Linked DNA regions of Homo sapiens: region 1 is linked to region 2. Evidence: promoter capture Hi-C in human tissues and cell types (Jung and others, 2019). All regions are on one chromosome and are shown on one strand. Each heading gives the region's core, a stretch centred on a gene start or on the middle of the fragment in contact. The rest is flanking DNA. Distances are from core to core; before and after follow the strand shown. Region 1 overlaps IMPG1 (interphotoreceptor matrix proteoglycan 1). Region 2 holds the start of IMPG1 (interphotoreceptor matrix proteoglycan 1).

Region 1 (2,700 bases), core at 184-2,683, 66 kb before region 2:
TTCTCTGCCTTCGTTCTCCGCAGTTGACTTGGACTGAACTGAAACCTTTGGATTCTCCTAGAACTATCCTTGGTAAGAAGTGGGTACCAAAGACTCATCAAATGAGACACAGGAAGGAGTGAGAAAAGCTAGAAATGATACCATATGTATTCCTGTCACAGTAATGATCGACTTTAGAAGACCCAAGTTAAAATGACAGTTTCCATGAGACATTCACATTCTTAGTCTCTGCCAAAATGAGAATAAACTCAGAACTAAGCAATCATTAACTGACCATCAGTGAACTGAATTGTCCCCACATCCAAAGATTGTTCTTCCTCTAGTGCTTTGCTGATCAGCCTTTTGAGGTCTGTAGCTGTGAGATAGATTTCTGGTTGCTTGTCCTCCTCCATGGTTCCATGATAGACTTCCTCACTTTCAATTTTGTTGGAATCAAAAGACAGGAGGTCACTTGCAGGGCTTTTTGCTTCTGCACTGTGTCTCTTAAAGATGGCCGTAAGTTGCATCTCTGTGGAGCTTGAGCTGTAGATAGCAGAGGACACATTCCCCACCCAAAGCCATTGTTACATGCCTTGCAAAGAGAATCACTAGATTGCTACAAAGCTTCAGGATAGCTTCCACCTCTTTCCTGATGGGCTCGGAGAGAATATCCCACTTTAAAACATTTCAACATTTATCAGAAACTTAAAATATGAAAAAAGAATAAATATATCTTTTAGTTCTAAAATAGAATGGCAGGAGGGAGGTCAGTCCACCTCAAAGAAGGATTACTAACTGAATCAAGTGACCATAGATTTTTACTTTAGGTTTTTTTTTTTCTTTCTTTCTTTTATTTTTTTTTTGCGACAGGGTCTCACTCTGTTACCCAGGCTGGAGTGCATTGGCATGGTCATGGCTCACTGTAGCCTTGAAGTCCTGGGGCCCAGGTGATCCTTCTGCCTTATCCCCCAGCATAGCTGGGAACACAGGAAGGAAGTGGGCTAATTTTAAATTTTTTTGTAGAGACAGAGTCTTGCTGTGTTGCCCAGACTGGTTTCAAACTCATGGCTCAAGCGATCTGCCTGCTGTGGCCTCCCAAAGTGCTGAGGTTACAGGCCTGAGCCACTGTGCCCACCTAGGTCTTTTTGAAAAAGTGCTTTTTGTCAAAAAAGTTGCTGGTATTGACCACTATTTTTTGTGATCTTATAAGTCATGCCGTGCCAATCAGGAAGAAGGATGAATTATCCTTTCTTCTACAAATAGCCTCCTTTAGGAAGGTCTATGAAATAGCAATGTAAGATATAGCAGTAGGACAATAGTATATATATATATGTATATTATATATATGCACACAATATATATATACTATTATGCATATACACATATATGTAAAATATATATATATAGTATATATATGTAAAAAAAGTCCAAATTACCCATCCATATACCCATATATGGGTATGTGTGTATATACATATGTATATAGGTGTATATATACACACATATATATACACCTATATACATATGGGTATATATACGTGTGTGTGTGTGTATGTGTATATATATATATACATATGTGTTGTAACCAAGTCAAAGGTTCAGTTCTTAAGGCTATTTCTTTTCTACTTTTTTAAAATAAGTATTTTTTAATTAAAAAAATACAACTTTAAATGATACATAATACTCTTTTCCCTCAAGCTGCTTTTAAAATAACATCTTAGAAGGAAGGTGTGAGAAAAGAGAAAAATAAGCAGGACATAGGTAACTGTATTTATTATCCTATTCATTAACTCAAAGCTTTTTTGCATGCAAAAATGAAACAGGATTCTCTATGTCTCTGTCCTCAGGAATTAGGTTTTACCTTTAGTTCATGTCATAAATCTAGACAGAGTGATGTAGAAGTGTTTTAAAGGCCACAGAAACTGATCACGTGTATTCTTGGTGGTTTTTCAGATGACACAATCATTTAGAGTCTATCGTTTGTTATTTCACTAGTCAATTACAGAGCCAAAGTTGATTCTTATTACTGAGCTCTCCAAGGTATAGTGGGCCCTTTTCTCAGTTCACATTGACCTTGGAAAGGAGCAAATTAGTTTCTCTGCTTTATTCCAGACTTAGGTTGATTCCATGTATGTGTGTGCTTTCAGATAGACAACTGCCCATTACAAATGGCATTTAAGAAATAAATTATGCTTGCAGCACAGATAGTGTTTTTATGTTTTTCTAACTATACCTTGAGTATGATAAAATCCTGTTCAGCTGACCAAGGAAATATTTACCTGTATCCCACATAGTGACTTTGATAAGAGAATTTTTTTTTTTTTAACTACTGGACAATTGTTCAATTACTTCCATTTAAATAAGAAACCATCAAAAAGTAATGGGCTTATCCAAGACATTATATGTAAAAATTATTTGTGCAAAATCAGTATATAAATTTGGGGGAGACGGGAATGTACTATATTTCAAAACTTAAAGTCCAAATTACCCATCTTTTTCTTTCTTTGGTCTTCATTTCATCATGCACAATGGAAACATGAAAAAGAGAAAAAAATTTAATGACATTTATTGAGACATTCAATGAATTATTTTATATACAAAAGAAAAAAATATTTCTTTCCATTGTCTCTTTTGTTTGTTCAGAGCTTTGAAAGATTCATATAAACTGCCATCAGAATTTGAATGGAAACTTTGAGAGAGATATGAATCTAAGAAGTAAAC
Region 2 (2,700 bases), core at 195-2,694:
TGATATGCAATATATGAAAATAGAAAAAATCGTTAAATTAACAGAATTAATGTAACAAAAAATTTAACACAGCTGAATTGCTTGATCAAGTCTACGAAATAGTCAAATTGGTTTACTTCATCAGATTCAGTTCAGAATATACCAAAATCTCATTATTTATTTCTAATTAAAATGATTTTATAAATGTAAATATTTATATATAATTGATAATTTAATGAAAAAGTAAATAAATTTTGCTTCTTTCACTATTGTGAAAACATGAAGAAATCTTTTCCAGAAATTTTTTTCTCCCTCCAAATGCAATCACTGAGAAGTTTCATATAACATGACTGATGGAATCACAGTTATTTTGTGACTTACACATGCAATGACTATTAATTTTACTTTTTCATGGATATTCCAAACCAATACTTTAGTTAAAATGTTTATCATCATGAAGCTATGTCATTCTTAAAGAAATTCTTAACCTTATTGACTTCAAATGTCTTAAAAAGATTGAGTATATTATGATAGGTAGGCTTATCCTTATATAAAAAAGTCAAACTTTCTCCAACATGTGTGTTTCTTTTTTAAAACACACATTATTTTTCTTAAAACATCCTGTTTGTGGCTTATTTTAATTTCATATTCAGATGCAGATTTGCCATAAGAACATACATTGCCTAGTTCTTTTATGCGTACAACTTCAAAAACAACCAAATTTTGAAGTGGTTGTCATCATGAACCCTGAAGATGAAGAATGTTTGCTATTTTCTAAGGGAAAGCAACTCATGATTTCATTGTGAGAAGGTAAGAAATACTTACTTTTTTTTGTCTGACCATAAATGACTTAAAACATTACTTTTATCTTTAGGTTTTATTTGTTGAATTTCGGTGGATAAATGGAGTTAGTTTCACAGATCTACTAATATTATTTACATTAATAATAAGAATTTTCAATGAATGTTTTAGAACAGCAAATAGGATGCATTCATCTCTCCTATTTTGTTAATCTTCACTGCACTTAAGACCATGTAGTAAATATTAAATCAAGTGAAAATCATTTCTGATAGTTAATTATTCAATCAATCAAGCAATATTTATTCAAGGCCTACTATATACTAGCCCGTGAGATCAATTGGTAGCCTTGTTGGTTCTAAATATTCACTTCTATCGGTAGATTTTATAGATAAGCAATTTAAAAGTAAACATTTAAGTAACTTACCTTTGGTTCCTTGAACTTGGAGAAAAATCCAAAAAACAAAAATAGCTCTTCTAGTTTCCAAATACATTCTGGCTTTTGTGCATTGGTAATTCTGATAACAATCACAGAACAACCTCAAATCTCATTAAAAAGTAACAGAAATGTGAAAAATAATTATATATTGATACCAGATGATTGAGGATAACCTTCTTGGTTTACCTTTATGAGGGTGTTAATTTATGAAGAACATGTAGCAGTGTCTGTTTCTGGAATAATCTGCTTGTCTTTCCCTCAGGTGTAATCTCTGCTTAAGGGCCAGCTGGAGGAACCTTTATCTCATTAACCTTCTGGAGGAGCATCTGTCAGCCTAGCTCCAGGACCCTGAATGCCATTATAAACAAGTGTCTACAGACACAGTTTTTTCTTAGTTATTCACCTGTTACAGTGACACAGAGAGCCAGGGGAAGTTCTGCCAAACAGAGAATAAGGCTGACAGTTAGGGTCAGATGTTTTCTAAAATGACATGTACAAGAAACATCCATTAAAAGAGCTTAATTTCTGTCCCTGAAAGTATATGGTTATCCAATATGTATTAGTCTCCACAGATAGCGAAACTGTCTCCATTCTCTTCTATGTTCTGCTTTATAAATTGCTTTTGATTTGGAATTACATACAGGTGGCTTTTTTGATTTAAGTCTGGTTTTAATGTTTAAAATCTGTATGCACTGTGTTTAAGGGGTCAAATACTTTTTTTCTACAAAGTTTGTAAGAAAAAATTGTGCCTTTCTTCTACCCATGCCTTCTTTCAAAGGGGAGCCATTTTTACTTCATCAACCTAATTCTTCTAGTAGTCTCATTTGCACTTCTAAATAACATGCCTCTATTACTATTTTGGAGGTTTTCACTTTTAGGTATTATCAAATAATAGATATTGAGAATAACTTCACTTCCACACATACCCTTTCTACTCATTGTAAACATCTTTCCATCTTTCTTCATCAGTATTATTGTAATTTCAGTTTTTGAATATTTGATTTTATATTATTTTGACTATACATGCTACATATTGCTGAGTCATGAAACACACTGCAACTACTACTGTATATGGAGCTCTTGTGTTGTGGATAGACATTGTTCTTAGAGATGTCCATAGATTATCCATAGATTCCTCAATATGACAATATAAACACTGTTAATACTATCTCTTTTAAATTTGAGGAGAATAAAGTATATGTGGCAGAGCTAGGATTTAAACCTAAAGAGTCTGGTTCAAAAGCCTACACCCTTTTTTTTTTTTTTTTTTTTTTTTGAGATGGGGGTCTCACTCTGTCACCCAGGTTGGAGTGCAATGGCGTGGTCTTGGCTCATTGGCTCATTTCAGCCTCAACTTCCATGGGGTCAGGTGATCCTCCCACCTTAGCCTCCTGAGTATCTGGGACTGTAGGCAGATGCCACCACACCTGGATAATTTTTTGTATTTTTTGTAAAGATGAGGTTTCACCATGTTGCCCAGGCTG

The links. Contacts are between HindIII fragments. The study calls those that stand out against the background at their distance.
Region 1: a fragment that was not itself captured here is called in contact with the fragment with the promoter of IMPG1 in region 2 in 2 of the 25 tissues and cell types used here (aorta and dorsolateral prefrontal cortex).

Annotation. Positions count from the first base shown.
Region 1 is chr6:76,005,013-76,007,712 of GRCh38, forward strand. IMPG1 (interphotoreceptor matrix proteoglycan 1) reads right to left here. Exons shown (of 17, transcript NM_001563.4): 9 at 2,468-2,488; 10 at 275-522. Among named protein-coding and RNA genes, the nearest start is that of IMPG1, 66 kb to the right of the region's middle. The HindIII fragment of the contact is 3,967 bases long and covers 1-2,700 here.
Region 2 is chr6:76,071,218-76,073,917 of GRCh38, forward strand. It overlaps IMPG1 (interphotoreceptor matrix proteoglycan 1), which reads right to left and starts at 1,445. Exons shown (of 17, transcript NM_001563.4): 1 at 1,205-1,445. The coding sequence starts at 1,271. The HindIII fragment of the contact is 12,797 bases long and covers 1-2,700 here.